2 separate regions of the Homo sapiens genome follow, and region 1 is linked to region 2. The links are contacts of gene promoters, found by promoter capture Hi-C in human tissues and cell types (Jung and others, 2019). All regions are on one chromosome and are shown on one strand. The core of a region is centred on a gene start or on the middle of the fragment in contact, and the rest is flanking DNA. Distances in the headings are between cores, read along the strand shown.

What was found. Contacts are between HindIII fragments. The study calls those that stand out against the background at their distance.
Region 1: a fragment that was not itself captured here is called in contact with the fragment with the promoter of ERCC8 in region 2 in 1 of the 25 tissues and cell types used here (dorsolateral prefrontal cortex).

What each region holds. Positions count from the first base shown.
Region 1 is chr5:61,823,866-61,828,417 of GRCh38, reverse strand. No RefSeq gene overlaps it. Among named protein-coding and RNA genes, the nearest start is that of LINC03123, 90 kb to the right of the region's middle. The HindIII fragment of the contact is 6,307 bases long and covers 1-4,552 here.
Region 2 is chr5:60,942,364-60,947,172 of GRCh38, reverse strand. ERCC8 (ERCC excision repair 8, CSA ubiquitin ligase complex subunit) reads left to right here and starts at 2,103. Exons shown (of 12, transcript NM_000082.4): 1 at 2,103-2,241. The coding sequence starts at 2,165. NDUFAF2 (NADH:ubiquinone oxidoreductase complex assembly factor 2) reads right to left here and starts at 1,968. Exons shown (of 4, transcript NM_174889.5): 1 at 1,791-1,968. The coding sequence starts at 1,917. RefSeq lists an enhancer at 1,203-1,332. The HindIII fragment of the contact is 9,089 bases long and covers 1-4,154 here.

The sequences.
Region 1 (4,552 bases), core at 1,888-4,387, 880 kb before region 2:
CACTTAGACCTCTATGCATGAGCTTGATTGTTTCTTCAGCATAAATTTCCCCAAATGTAACTGCTTTTTGGGATTTCATACATATTGCAGTTTCCCTCCGGAAGGTCTATTCCAATTTACTCTTTTGGATTTATTTTTTAAACCATGCAAATCTATGTTCAGAATGAAAAAGAAGCTCTGACCAGTTTCTAGAACAGAGCATGTTCTATCCCAGAAAGTCCTTGCCAGAGGGGAAAGGGGGAGGACATGAGAGAAGGGCTGGGAAAGAACAGTTCCAGGGTTGCCTCAAAGGATATGAGCTTTAATAAGCCCCTTATACTTAGGGCTTTGTGGTTATTATAGAGCACCTTCTCCTAGAGTACCTATGCAGTCCCTCTGAGCACAACGTTTCCTCTTTCATTCAGGTCAAAATTTCTGCAGGCTGCTACACCCCAGTCAGGGAATCTGCACTTGGAAGGAAAACAGAGGCTGGGAAAATTCCACCCTGACTTGCCCTCTTTTCTTGTTTGATTCATATCTGTGGCTACTGGCCTCCAGGAAACAAAAATGATAAGAAACCCAAACCCAGGTCATCATTAGCAAAATGAAGCAGTTTTCCAGTTAGTTGGAGGGCAGCCCAAAGTGGGGTGGAGGATTCTGCCTTAGAGAAACTTCCAAAATGATGTCTGATACTTATCAGGGTAACTGACAGGGCTTTGTGCGTCATGCAACCCTCAGTTACCAGGTCTCGTGGCTTCATGGGTCTAGCTCCCTAGTGAAAAAATGGCTGTCTCCTAGAATCAGGCAGAGAAGGTGAAACCTGGGAGTATGGAGTTTATCAAGTTACATTCAACATCTAACCAGCACAGCTAACATTTTCTTGGTATATGAGTGTATCAAGGTTACATTCAACACATACTCTAGGATGAAACACATAGGGAGGTGTATACACAGGGCATGTCTAGCTCCATACAGTTTCAAATCCAGGTAAAGAAAATGTAAGGGATTTGGAATAAAGACAATGTCCTGTTTGTGTGAATACTTTGTAACTCTTGTAAGATATTGGAAATGATCTCCTCTTCACTGAGCAGTATGGGAAGCAAATCACTCTTACCATTAAATCTGATTTGAATGCCAAGTGCACTAAATAGATGCCCATTTACATAATTAACTTGAAAAATAACAAAAATAAGACCCGATTCCCTCATCACTCCTGTAGAATCCTGGGTAGGTAGGTGGTCCTGATCTTAGTCCTAGCTGACCAAGGTTTTCCAACCAAGAGCAGGCTTCCAGGATGCTCCCGCTGGCTCATCCAAGATATTCTCCTGAGCTGCCTGGACTTGAGTGAGGAGCAAGAAGCAAGAAATCACTGCATTGGAGATCATGGCTGAGATAATGCTTTTATTTGGGTACTTAACTCTCCTATGTCTCATGGGGGAAGTAATCCAGCAGGACATACCAGAAACTTGGTTTCTGGTCTGTGTAAATCTCACCATAAGCAAGTTGCTTCTTCTCTCTGGGAATCAGTTTCCTGGCCTTTAAAATTAGGAGTTTGAACTATGTTGTCTCCTAAGATCTTTTCACCTTTACTATAATCAACAAAACAGCTTCCATCAAACAAATCACCTATATCTCTTTTGAGTTTTAGAAAAGTTCAATTTAAAACCATCATTTGAATTTCTGCAGGCGCTGTGTGAAAAGTCACATGCTAAAGGGCAATTGTTTGCCCTTCATTGTTTCACTACTGTTGCCCTGGTTGGCCTTGGGTAGTGGGAAGCTTCTAAGTGCTCTGGACATGGACAAAACCATCCTTTGCCATCAAAATGGCAAAAGAAAGTGCAGTTTTGCTCTTTTTGTGCCATTCTTGGGGCTTCATTGGCTTCTTGGAAGGCAAATAAATGACCTTTTACCACCTTCACTGCTATATCCCTTCATATTTTACACTTTTCTGAAGTCCCGTTATGCTTTCATTTAGAGTCCAGATTCTAGATTGACTGTACTTACTCCAGCCTTTCTCCAAGCTCCAACTAAAGAACATCTGAAATAAACACTTCTACATTTATTGTAACATCGTCAGCTGGTTTCCAGGGTTGATCCTGAGAAGTCGGCAGCCAATTTGATCATGGTTCCTGTGGAGGTAGCCTGTCTTTTCTTGTTTTGTTGTCTCTTGTTCATGTTGCTCATTTTATCATGTTTTTAGCAATTTTTGTTCATCATCTCATATTCCCTGAAATTTTATTTATAATAATTTTTTGAGCACCGTGTTCTTCAAAGAGAGGCCTCATCAACCTGGAGTTATTTTTAACCACATGGTTAATTTGGGGTTTTTAGGCCATTGAGATAGCATAAATGTGTGTCCGAATCCCCCAAGCAAAGGTTCAGGCAGACAAATGTTGCTCTGTGAGGCAGGTTATCCTACTGAGGGTGTAACCCTTCAAGGGTGATGTTTTATTCAGAGCCCCAGGCTTTGTCTCTAGTCCCCTCTGAATGTGACTCTAGGCCACCAGGATAATTCTTGGATTTGGGAAAAATGTTAGCTGTACTGGTTTTAAAATATATCTACATATTCTCCAGTACTTCTCCCTTCAAAAAGTGGAAACTAAATTCCACTCCCCTAGAGTGTGAGCTGAACTTGATGACTTGTTTCTAATGAATAGAAAATAGTGGAAGTCATGGTACGCAACTTTCAAGACACTATGGGCCTTCTCCTTGCTCTCCTTGGATTGCTTATCCTGGGGGAAGCCAGTTACTAAAGTGTCAGGACACTCAATCAGCTCTATAGAGAGGCACCTTGGCATGGATCTGAGGCCTCCTGCCAAAAGCCATGTGAGTGTGCCATCTGGGAAGCACATCTTCCAGCCCCAGAAAGCCTTCAGATGATCTTAGCCATGGCCAATATCTTGACTGCAGCCTCTGAGCCAAAACCACCCAACCAAACAGCTCCCAAATTTCCAACCCACAGAAACTAGGAGATAATAAATGTTTATCATTTTAATAGACTAAGTTTTAGGATAATTTGTTACTCATCACTAGCTTATCTCTTGGAATTCTCCTTTTTTGTCACTTCTGACCTTCAATTATTTACTTTATTGCCAGAATAGCCATGCTTTTAAAAAGTACTTATTACATTTCATCTAGGATCTTAGGGAGTCACTTCTCGGGAGCAGCTTCTGCACATCTAGCCTGCCATATTTCTGAAAACAGAAGTCCTCACATTTGTTAACAAATCCCCTTGTCAAATGTAAAGCTAGTGAGGCAGGTTCATTAACCTCATGATGTAAGTAAGGAAGCAGTTTCAAAAAGACTGAGTATCTCCCCAAGGCCACACTGCCAGCAAGGAATGGAGCTAGGATCTGAATCCAAGTATAGCAAACACCAAAGTCCATGTTCCCTTTAAAATCACAAGCTGCTTTCCATGGATAGAATTGAAAATACTGTTGTCATCCAATCTAATCATTTATACATTGGGATAGAATGGATAGGAAAAGGATAGGTGGGAAGAAATAGAGGCAGAAGCTAGGGGCCCTGCTACCAGTGTGCTGAGGCTGCAGAGGGACTCTTGTGATCTTCGAGTGGACCTCCCAACTGTTCCTTGGAAAAGTCATTTGGCCCCATGCTGTCTTCTCTTCTATTTCCCAAGGTGTTCCCCAGGGTCCTACTCTAAATTGCGGTCTGGAGCACTCTCTCTCCCTCTGCACGTGCTCTCTGGGAGGACTGCGCTGCTCAATGGTTCCCATTAGTGATCATTTCCTGACAAATTCCCAGCTATCTTTGCAGCCGTGCCTCTCAGTCCTTCCCAGGCTTGTCTCTCTTGTTGTCAGCTGGAAGGTTGCACAACCAAATGATGAGCTCATGATATCACACACCCAGTAGGCAAGTAATTTAACTTCCCTAAGCCTCAGATTGCTCATCTATAAAATGGGAGCAATAGTGACTATCTCATGCACTTATGAATATTAAATGCTATACTATAAGATGTATAAAACCCAGTGATTGGCACATAGTAAAAGCTGAATAAATGGTAGTTATCTAGAAGGTTTAGCAAATTTAGTTGGTATTGGCTGGTGGCATAGCATGTGGTAGGGAAAGGTTTGTTTTTATGTATTTTCCAGTTTTCACATTTCATTGTAACACAAATGTAATTTCAGTGAAAGGAACAGGATGAAAATATGCAAGGCCTTTCTTATGACCTCTACCAACCCAGGGATTTAACATCATTAAGATAACTATTTGGACAGTTTAAGGCTACATATTTGCAAATGGGATTTTAAGGGTGAAAACCCATTTGTAACCCTAAGGTGTTTAAACAACCCTGCAATTTGATCTCAAATCCCCCCAGCACTATCTTAACTACTCCAGCCTCCTGTCTGGCAATCCCAGTCTTACATCTAGGACCACCTGTCAATTGCTGCAATGGCTGGGGTTTTGTGAGGCTCTCAGCTGTAACCTGATCTGCACAAGTGTTTGAGGGATGCTGCAGCTGCCACAAAATTTGTAAGTTTTACAGTGTTGTGTGGTGGCTGGGGTTCAACGGCACACCTCTGGAAAGTTTCCATTCATTTATTTCCTCATT
Region 2 (4,809 bases), core at 854-3,353:
CACACATTGATCACACAACTTAGTAATCCCACTACTAGATATTTACCCAAGAGATATGAAAACTTACGTTCACACAAATCCTGTATGGGAATGTTTGTAGAGCTTTTGTCACAATCACAGAAACTGGAAACATCCTAATGTCCTTCAGCTTGTGAACAGATAAACTGGCAAACCCATACAATGGAATACTACTGAGCAATAAAAAGGAACAACTACTGACACATGGATGAATCTCAGCTACATTATGCTATGTGAAGCAAGCCAGACTCAAAAGTCTAAATCCTGTATAATTCCATTTATATGATATTCTAGAAAAGACAAAACTATAGGCCCATAAAACACATCAGTAGTTGCCAAAGGGTGTGGGAATGAACTACTAAGGAGTTGGAGGAAATTCTGATGGTGATGGAATTATTCTATTACTTGAATCCAGTGAGGTTACTCTACTCATTTGTCAAAAACAATAAAACTGTACACCATAAAGGGTGAATGTTACTGTATGTAAATTATATTTCAATTTAAAAAAACTCAGTCTGACAGTTTGCATATTTTTAATTTTACTGACAACTTATGGAAAAGAAACATCTCTCTGCTTGCAACCTGTCAAGAAATACTTAACACCATGCTATGTTCTTTGCAGGCTTTTTTCTTTTTTTGTGAGACATATTCCCTGCCTGACAGAGGAGCTCATTAGGGAAACAAGTCTAAATATTAAAATAAGTTACAGAAAAAGGCCAGGCAAAAATAAATTAATTGAGTGATAAATCACAGAATACATTTTATATGTGTGGGAAATGAATGGCACATAATCTTGGAAAGGTCTTAGTGCTTCTCAACATTGCTGATCTTATATTATCTCTAACTTTCAAGTGAGGATGTTGAGACTTGGAGAGGACAAGTACTTTTTCCGTGATTCCCGAGCTATCAGGTGTCAAAGCTGAGATTCTAACCCACGCCTCTTCGCCCAAAACCTGACATTTTCTGCATGCGGCGATGGAACAACACAGAAGAGGTTACGACGGCGGCTACACAGTGTGATTTCAATGGACAGCAACGCCTCCTTACTCCCCAAACAACCCGCTCAACTACTTGGCACGAATCCTACACAGTAACACCATGATTATTGCCACGTTTCTTAAATTGAGCTCAACGGGGTCTTGGAATGTCAACTCCCGAGAAAGGAATCAGCGAGCCTTGTGGGGATATGGACCTACTTCTGACAAGTCTTGGTAGTAAGGAAGGCGCATGGGGCCAGCGCCGGAGCCAGGGTGCCACCGAAAAGGGTAAACACCAAGAAAGAAGACAGCCGAGGCGCTGAAGATACTCCTCTTCAATTACACCACTCAGCTCTGGGTCACAAGGCGGGGAACAGCGTACGAAAAACCCCTCCCCTGGCCCTTCTAGCCCCTTTGGTGAAAGATTTCCGTGGACTTTTCCCTGCCTCCGTCGCCAGTCCAGGGCTAAAACTGAGGCTCCTCTACAGGCGTGGCTGGGAGGAAAGTGGTGGTGCGCCTTAACAGCGCAAGCAGCCCGGGGCACGCCGGGGGAAGGCGCTGGGTAGTAGGGACCGCGGACGCACGAGGCCGGGCCAAGGCGCCCAGAGCCGGGCCGGGTAGGGCTCCGATGCCAGAGTGAAGGGGTCGACAGGGGAGAACGAACTCGGGAAATTCTCTCCGGTGACACCCTAAGTGTCGCATGATGCGTTAGTTGACTAGGGGCTCTCACTTTTCCCTCCTTTACTGACCTCGCAATCACTGACCACGCAATCGCTGCCCACGCCGCCACCTCACCTCTCCAGTTCTTGTACTGCGGGATGTAGTAGTATTTGTTCCCGAATTGGTCCGTGCCCACGTGCTCCTTCACTTCCCTTGACAGCGATCTCCACAAGGCGCGGAACAAATCCTGAGACCAACCCATGCCGTCCACCCAGTTTCCAGCGCTGCCAGCAGCGGGACCCGCAGTAGGGGTAATGCTCCAGCCGCCGACCCAGCCCACCGAGGCGGAGAAGTCAGGTCGGCCTCCATCCTGGAGCCCTTCTAGTAACGGCGCTCACCATTGGCCGGATATATCACCGACTGACCAATGGGAGACTCTGCTGTTCCAGTCCCGCCCCTGAGCTCTGTCATGGCGACGTCCAGTGCTCCAGCCGGTGTGAGGACACGATATGCTGGGGTTTTTGTCCGCACGCCAAACGGGTTTGGAGGACCCTCTTCGCCTTCGGAGAGCAGAGTCAACACGGAGGTAAAGAAAACCTTACTTTTTGGCTAACAGGCCAGTTAGAATCTGGACCAATGACTGTAAGCTTTGCCCCACACTTTCCCGTCTCATCGCTCTCCTGCCACCAAACTATTATTTGCCCTCTAATGCTGTGTGGCTTGCTAAAATAGGATCCCTTTTATTTACTGGTAACAACTTGCAGGCGGGGGGCGGCGGGGGTGGGGGGGGTTCCCCGGGGGTGGGGGGGGGGTTCCCCCGCGGGCTCAGGTGAAGACACTATAAACCTAAATAAGAATACTTCGTTGTACTGTATTCCTTCTCTCTTAAGTTACTCCAAAGAATAACTGCCCTCCACGGACTCGTTCATTCATTCAGTCTGCATATTTAGTGAATTCCTACAGTGTGCCAGGCAGCCTATTAAAGGCAGAGGACACAGGCCAGGAATTGAACAAAGTTCAGAATGACTAGAGCGGAGAATTGGGGTAGGGACCATTGACAAGAGATGAAGTAGACAGAAACTAGATGAGGAAGAGCCTTGTGTACTTGAGTAGAGGTGTGAAGATGAGAATAAGGTAACAGCTATTGCATTTTGTTTTCTGCTTGGAGAATGGGTTGCAACTGAGAACAAGAGTGGGAGCCAAGTTAGGTAACTGTTGTGATTACACTTGTCCGGGAGAGAGTTGTTGGAAGCCTGGGCCACAGAGTTGCCAAGTAGAATAAAGATAGTGGAGAGATTTGAACAACGTCTGAGAAATAGAATCAACAGGCCATGGAAATTGAGTGGATACGTGAATGACAAAAAGAGAAGAATGAATAATGATTCCCAGATCTATGCCTTGTATAAGAAGTTGAATGTTGGTAATATACTCTGAGAGAGGGTTTTCCAAAGGGAAGAAGCAAGTTGTACTTTTAATTTTGCCCACATTAATTGAGGAACCTGTGAAGATATTTACTTGGAGAACACAGTTGCTTATGAGTTCTGCGTTCTGGAGAAATTTAAATATTAGTTTCCAACATTTTATCCATTACGTTTTCAATGTTGTGAAATATCTCTGAGAGTTCCTTTAATGTGTTTTTTTTGCCAGTGTCACTTCCTCTGACACATCATCAGCCTTTCATCACAATCACTTTTCCTCATTTATGTCTATAAGTTCACCTTCACTGATTTCCTCAGTCTGCATATCTAGAATGTCTCAAATGGCGGCAGTGTCATTGTTGCCACAATCAGCATGTTCCCACAGGCAGCTTTTTTTTCATTTGCTCCATTTATGTTTAATGCAAGTTTCACTTCTAGTATTATCACTCTTCTTTAGTGCACTTTCATTCTTTTGGCCAATTTCCTCTTTTAATCTGTAAAATTCCATGTGGGTTTATCTCAAGGGCACAGAAATATTAATAACAAACCTCCATGCTTTGCAGCCTGTGTGTGAACTGAATAACAGATGCACAGTGACCAATCACCCATAGACTTTGAAAGAAGTAAAATTGCAAATTGGTCAATTTTGATTCATATGTTATTTATGTAATGATTTGTGAACTGAAAAGCTAGTAGCAAACTTTTATGCTATTTCTCACGGTTAATAAACTGTGGTAACTGAAATTCATATCAGACTGTGCCAAGTGAGGATTGCTTATACGTTTAAGACAAATAAAGTATTTAAAAATTAAAAAAATATTTTTTTTTTGAGGCAGGGTCTTGCTCTGTCACCCAGGCTGGAATGCAGTGGTGCAGTTACAGCTCACTGCAGCCTCGACTTTCCAGGCTCAAATGATCCTCCCATCTCATCCTCCTAAGTAGCTGGGACCACAGACATGTGCCCACACACCTAGCTAATTTTTAAATTTTTCGTAGAGATGGGGTCTCCCTATGTTTCCCATTCTGGTCTTGAACTCCTGGGCTGAAGTGATCCTCCTGCCTTTGCCTCCTAAAGTGCCGGGATTATATGTGCGAGCTACCACACAGCCTAAAATTTTTTTAAAAATATTTCCATCATTAAGTGATGTTTTTGCTTAAACAATTATATAGTTCCATTTTATTCATAGGAGATGTCTACTGTTCTTCCTTGTCATCATGTAAGAGCAAAAGGATGAACACTGATATGCAGTGTTCACAGTTTACACCCTCTAAAAAAACATTTTACAACTTTATTGAGGTATAATTGACATGCAATACCCTGCACATTAAATGAGAATATACAATTTGATGAATTTTGACATATATTTACTTTTGAAACCATTACCATAATCAAGAGAACATCCATAACCCTAAAAAATTTTTGACGGTCATTTATAATCCCTGTCTCCCTTCTTTCTCTGCTTTACCCTCTTCCTTCTCTAGAAACTACTAATCTGCTTTAGGTCACTATAGATTAGTTTGCATATCTAGTATTTTATATAAATGGAATCTTTTTTGTCTGGCTTCTTTCACTCAGCATAATTACATTATTTTGAAATTTCTCCATGTTATTGCATGTATCAATTCCTTTTTTTTGCTGTGGAGTATCCCACTGTGCAGATATACCACAGTTTATCTAGTCACTTGTCGATGGACATCTGAGTTGTTTCCAGTTCAGGACTAATACATTTACAGCT